2 separate regions of the Homo sapiens genome follow, and region 2 is linked to region 1. The links are contacts of gene promoters, found by promoter capture Hi-C in human tissues and cell types (Jung and others, 2019). All regions are on one chromosome and are shown on one strand. The core of a region is centred on a gene start or on the middle of the fragment in contact, and the rest is flanking DNA. Distances in the headings are between cores, read along the strand shown.

Region 1 (3,268 bases), core at 57-2,556:
TTGTTTTTTGAGACAGAGTCTCGCTCTGTCGCCCAGGCTGGAGGTTACTGGCACAATCTCGGCTCACTGCAACCTCTGCCTCCCGGGTTCAAGCGATTCTCCTACCTCAGCCTCCCGAGTAGCTGGGATTATAGGCACCAACCACCGCTCCCGGCTAATTTTTGTATTTGTAGTAGAGATAGGGTTTCTCTATGTTGGCCAGGCTGGTCTCGAACTCCTGGCCTCAGGTGATCTGCCCGCCTTGGCCTCCCAAAGAGCTGGGATTACAGGTGTGAGCCACAGCCCCCGGCCTGTTTTGTTTTTAATTCATACTTTTGTGGACACAAGAACGCATATTTGGTGCAGACTGGCTCCAAGGACAGGATATCTGAAATTATTTGAACTGAAACAATATAGTTGTGCCAATAAAGACAGAAAAGACTAAAGACAATATAAAGCTTGTCATTTAAATGTTTTTTAAAAAATATCTTTCGTACCGTGGTTTTCTTAAAACGACTACTTTATCTACACTAATCATCTGGACCTCTGATGCCCAACCGAGACGAAAGTGCTGAGTGATGACCAGGGGTCGGGTAGCTTGGTCCACAAGAAAAAGAGAAATGTTTTCATCTTGAATTCTTTAGATCCCGACCCCTCCGCGCAGAGTTCAGCGGGCGAGGGCGAGGGGCGTCCTGGGCAGGGGGCGCCCCTCATCCAGCCTAGGCTCCAGTCACGTACGTGCACGCAACTGTCAAAGCTCAGCCCAAGGAGCAACTCTCCGCATCTGTGCATTTCATCCTGAGTCAAGCCCCATAAAAATTGGAATACGTAAAAATGGGCAAAAATTGAACATTTAAAATACAGCAGTGAAAAGGGAGGAGTGCCTGCTCCGGAAATGCTCTAAGCGTGGTTCATCAACACTCCCTGAAGAGCGGACCACGGAGATGCTCCGAGGCTCCGCCATCCCGCACGCAGGACAAAGGTGCTGAGAATGAGGCGCGCTGGTCCTGCACCCTCTGCCGAGAGCCGGAAGCCAGGGGCGCGCCGGGGCCGGTCGGGCACGTGCAGGGGGCTCTCCGGCCGCCGCGCTGCCCCGAAGCCGGCCCTGGGGACTCGCGGCTGCGCGGACCGAGCTCGCGAAGGGGACCAGGCTCGCGGAGGGGCCGCAGCGGCCCCAAGGATGGCGCAGGAAGACCCCCCACGCAAGACAGCCGGTCGCGGGGGTCAGGGGCGGCTCCTCCCGGGCCCGGCCCCGCCCGACTGACCTGTGACGCTGGCCCGGGTGACGCGCTGCACCACGGCCTTCATGGCGGCGGCTGGGGCGAGTGGGGCGGCGCCGCGCTGCGTCCGGCCTCGCGACTCTGAGGGCGGCTCCGCAGCCGGCGCCCTCTGGAGGTGACACCCGGAAGCGCGCCCAACTGGCCGGTCCGACTCGGTCGGCTGCTACCCACCCCACGTCGGCCACGCCCACTCTCGGCCTGGCGATAGGCCCACCCACTCATAGATTGACTCCGCCTATGCCTGCCACGCCCACCTGCTGCCCAACCGTAACCCCGCCCGTCATTGAAAAGCCCAGTCCCCACGCTCGGCCCTGCCCCATCCACATCTGGGTCCCGCCAGAGCCCTTTGATCCCCCCATCCCGGGCCCAGCCCCTACCCAGTGCCCAGAACCCACTCTGCCCCGAAGGTAGTCTCTATGCTGGTTTTTTTCTCCCACATACCCGAACCTAAGAACCCGTCATCACTAAGCCTTTAAATTCAGCCTGAATCCTATTTCTAATTGTATTCCTCTTTCCTCTTCCACTCCTCTGCACGCAGATCCTCCCAAATTCTTCTTCCTTGTCTTCCTGCCTCAGTGGCTTTTCAGATACCACATACAAAAGGATCTGCTGCCTAAAATAGCCATTTACCTATCTCACTATTAATTCGACTTAGCCATGTCATGATAATAAATAGGTATGTGATTCTAGAATTCTAATTTCTCATGTAATATAAATGCTACTAATTGGCCCCCTCACTGGGTTGTTAGATTTAAATGAACCAAACCACGTAAAAGTGCTTAGATGGCAGCAAAGGGCTGTACAACTATTACCCCAACAAATTATTATCATTGCTAAAAATAATTCCATCTCAGCAGTCTTCACCTTAAAGGTGACTAATAGCATTGGTGGGCGTAGAAAAGGCACTGAAATTGAGAAGAAACCCTCACTTGCCCAGAAAAGACTACAAACTAGTGTGCTTGTTTGTTAAATACTGAATACTAAATTGCCTTAATAACGTTGTCAAAGTTAACATAACCAGTAACAAGACATCATGTGCCTCCTGATATTGCACTGGGAAGGACACAACATCAATCTTGTGGTATTTCTGCCAAATAATGTATAACCTGAATCCAATCATGATGAAACATAGGACAAAAATAAATTGAGGAACATTCTACAAAATAACCAGGTAGGATTCCGAGAATTAAGGAGGATTTTTTTTTTTTTTTTTTTTGAGATGCAGTTTTGCTCTTGTGGCCCAGGCTGAAGTGCAATGGTGTGATCTTGGCTATCCACAACTTCTGCCTCCTGGGTTCAAGCAATTCTTCTGCCTCAACCTCCTGAGTAGCTGGGATTACAAGCATGCGCCGCCACGCCCGGCTAATTTTGTATTTTTATTAAAGATGAGATTTCTCCATGTTGGTCAGGCTGGTCTCGAACTCCCGACCTCAGGTGATCTGCCCGCTTTGGCCTCCCAAAGTGCTGGGATTACAGGCATGAGCCACTGCGCCCAGCCGTGGACTTTTTAAAAGACAGGAAAACTACCTGTAATCCCAGCACTTTGGGAGGTCAAGGTGGGCGGATCATTGGAGGTCAGGAGTTCGAGGCCTGCCTGGCCAACATGGTGAAACCCCGTCTCTACTAAAAATACAAAAATTAGCCAGGCATGGCAGCGCATGCCTGTAATCCCAGCTACTCGGGAGGCTGAGGCAAGAAAATTGCTTGAACCCGGGAGGCGGAGGTTACGGTGAGCCGATATCGTGCCACTGCACTCCAGCCTGGGTGACAAAGCAAGACTCTGTCTCAAAAAAAAAAAAAAAAAAAAAAAAGACAGGAAAACTAAATTAACCTGGGTGGTATCCTGGCCAGAAAAATCAAGAAAAGGAAAAGCTTATTATTGGAACAACTGGTAAAATTTGAGTTTTTGAAAAATCAGCAGGTCTCAATATTTTGATCACAGGATCCCTTTACATTCTTAAAAATTATTGGGCACAAAGTATAGCTTTTGTTTAGGTGGATTATATCTA
Region 2 (3,344 bases), core at 566-3,065, 640 kb before region 1:
TAATTACGTGGGGTAAACCATAGAAACAGGTGTAAGCCTAAAAAATACTAAGACAGAGTAGTTAATATCGGATAGCTTTAGTTGTTCCCAAATCCCAATTTCTTTTTCTTTGTAACAAACTAAAAATTTCAAGCTAAAATCTGAACAGGCATTCTGGGATGCATGGTCATTAGCCTAGCATTAGGACCCAATGACCCTTCAATGGGTCATTCCCACTGAAGGAAATACAGAGATGCATAAAAGAAGCTGAGTGTGGATGAATGCCTAACACACAAGAAGGGATTGTGACATGCGGACTGTGGAAGGGCACATGGGTCCCCAGGTGTGAATCCCATCTCAGAAACATGAGGCATTTGTTGCTGAAAGGAACTGTTGTAAAGGGCACCCCCCCCATCAATATGTCTTTCTATACCCATCCATTCCCCCCCATCAATATGTCTTTCTATACCCATCCATTCAGAGACCCCAGTTCCCGGAAATGCAACTCAACTAGGCAAAGAAGCAAAAGGAGGGTGGTATGGAGCCTTCTGGAGATTAATAGAAAAGAGGTGCGATGGAAAGAGCCACAGGAGGGATCAAACCAGGGTGGCAGATTTTCACACACTGTCTCTAGATATAAGAACTAGGAAGAACTATCACTGATCAAAATTATAATGAATAAGGTTCCACCTCAGTATTCTAACTACAAGGTAGAAGGAGCAGGAGATCCCCTCTCAGGCAAGCTGAGTCACCCTAGAAAAGTCAACATCAACACTGGAAGGTTGGCCAGGGACCATGCACAACAACCACCCCTTCAGCATAAGCGATGCTCACAGTAACCTGACAATTGTGACCAGGTGAGAGTGGTGAGGGCGCTGAAGGGACAGGAGGGTCTGTTCACAGGCACACCCCCGGCCTGGACCTTCTCTTTCAAGGTTGATAACTCAAGACAATTTTGAAAATTCTCTGCAACATCTGAAGTAAAACACTATTCTTCTAAAAAAAAAAAAAATCTATTATGGGAAGAAGATGTAAATTTTGGAATCCATTTTTTTTAATCTCAATATCAAATAAACATAGGATATATGAAAGAAAAATCACTAAATGGAAAAGGCTAAGATTACAAGGGGAGTCAGCTAAGATGGAGATGACAAGACATAAAATGGTTAAAAAACCAGAAATGCAAACACAAAACATAAATGGGAATAAGAGGCAGCAGACAGCAGACCCAATAGTGCTGAAAATCAAATTACCAAGGGGAAAAAAACATAGGCTCTTACAGAATGAAGAGGAAAAGACAAAAAGATGAAGACACAGCCAAATAACTATCCAAATTACAAACAGTTCATGTTCCAAGGGAAACAACCAAAACCAACAAGAAGCCACAATTAAAGGTCATATTCTCCAGGCAAAACGAAATAAAATTAGAACTTGGTATATATACATATATATATATACACACACACACTCCAACAACTTAGAAGTTAAAATTCAGTCTCTCAAATAATTAATTGCAGAAAAAATAAAAACTATAATTACAAGACTATTTGAAAAGTACCAATAATGACTGCATGACATTTCAAAACTTATAGTTTGAGTCTAAAGCTACACTAAACATCAAATGCATTATAAAGCAAGAAATAATAAAAAGGAAATAAAGCATTTCATTCAAGATATTTGAAAATAAACACAGGAATTAAGAGGAGATTTTGAATAAATATTAAAGCTTTACTGACTCAGGGAAAAGGGAAAAGAGAAAAATTAATGAAGAAATACAAGATACAAATTTTCACAAATTGATAAAATACACCAAATACAGTCAGATTTTATCAATGAAAAAAATAAACATATACGTTAGTACTGAGAAAAGTTTATATGATCTCAATTACAGAACAAATTAAAACAAAAAAAGTACTTCATAATTTTGTTCATTTCTAAAATATTAATGAAATTAACACTTCTCTAGGAAAACATAAATTACCCACACAGAAAAGTATCAATGAAAGAAATTAAAGTTTGTTCAAAATTATCTTCATAGAAGACTGTAAGGCAGGCAGCACTATAAGTGCTTTTGTCAAATTTTCAATATACAAATAATTTCCATGCTTCATAAAATATTCCAGAACATAGAGGAACATAGAAATTATCAATTCATTTGTAAAGTTAGTGTGATCCTGACACCAAAACCTGGCAAAGGAGCTATATGTCTATTTCTTTCATAAATATATAGGCAAAAATTTCATAGAAAATGCAAATAAATAAAATCCAGCATCATATTAAAAATATATGTCATGCCTTTGTAAGATTCACTTTCAGAAGTGCTTTAGTAAGGATATTTTTTTCTATATATATTGTTATATTAAACACTTTAATAAGTGTTAATAAGGCATTTGATCACATTCAACATCCATGGCTAATTTTTTTTTTTTTGAGACGGAGTCTAGCTCTGTCACCCAGGCTGGAGTGCAGTGGCGTGATCTCAGCTCACTGCAAGCTCCGCCTCCTGGGTTCACGCCATTTTCCTGCCTCAGTCTCCCGAGTAGCTGAGACTACAGGCGCCCACCACCACGCCCACGCCCGGCTAATTTTTTGTATTTTTAGTAGAGACAAGGTTTCACAGTGTTAGCCAGGATGGTCTTGATCTCCTGACCTCGTGATCCGCCCACCTCAGCCTCCGAAAGTGCTGGGATTACAGGCGTGAGCCACCGCGCCCGGCCCTGATTTTTTTCTAATATAGAAAACCACAAATGAAAGGAAACTTCCACAGCATAATGAAAAGTAACCAGTGTCACTAATAGCCAAGGGGATCCATACCCCAATGGACAGCACATAGTCTTCCAACAGTAAAAAAACTCCTCAGCTACAGAATGAACCTAAAGATATTGATTCATAGAATAAGTTTATTTTCAGTATTGTATAATTTCACATTTTTAAGAATAAAATATAAAGAAGCAATATTTTAAAAGACTATTAAGGGATGAAACAAGAGCAACAACAAATAATAAATACCAGAGTAACCTTCACCAGTAAATGTAAGGAAGAAATAGAGAAATAATCATGAATCTTGACAAATTTTTTAAAAGCCTTTATCAAATGAAGAAACACACTATGAACAAAAAGAATCAACATTATAAAATGCCATTTTTCCATAAATTATTTATAGATTTATCAAAACCTAGAAGGATTTGGAGAAAATGTAAAGGATTATAAATTCATCTGGAAAGATAAATGAGTGATAACAATAAATAAATAGTTTTTTCAAAAAACAGGAAAGGTGTCTTGACCTACCAGATAATTAACATGCTAATAAGTTACAATTAATTAATGAGTAAATATAACAAAATAAATATCATAAAATATTTGCC

Evidence for each region. Contacts are between HindIII fragments. The study calls those that stand out against the background at their distance.
Region 2: a fragment that was not itself captured here is called in contact with the fragment with the promoter of DTD1 in region 1 in 1 of the 25 tissues and cell types used here (dorsolateral prefrontal cortex).

Annotation. Positions count from the first base shown.
Region 1 is chr20:18,586,092-18,589,359 of GRCh38, reverse strand. It overlaps DTD1 (D-aminoacyl-tRNA deacylase 1), which reads right to left and starts at 1,306. Exons shown (of 6, transcript NM_080820.6): 1 at 1,245-1,306. The coding sequence starts at 1,287. It overlaps LOC124904878 (a long non-coding RNA gene), which reads left to right and starts at 1,895. Exons shown (of 3, transcript XR_007067547.1): 1 at 1,895-1,935. RefSeq lists enhancers at 770-829, 670-1,169 and a silencer at 940-1,479. The HindIII fragment of the contact is 3,504 bases long and covers 111-3,268 here.
Region 2 is chr20:19,227,710-19,231,053 of GRCh38, reverse strand. The region is part of intron 1 of SLC24A3 (solute carrier family 24 member 3); the gene reads right to left. The region is part of intron 1 of LOC124904879 (a long non-coding RNA gene); the gene reads right to left. Among named protein-coding and RNA genes, the nearest start is that of SLC24A3, 17 kb to the right of the region's middle. The HindIII fragment of the contact is 7,240 bases long and covers 1-3,344 here.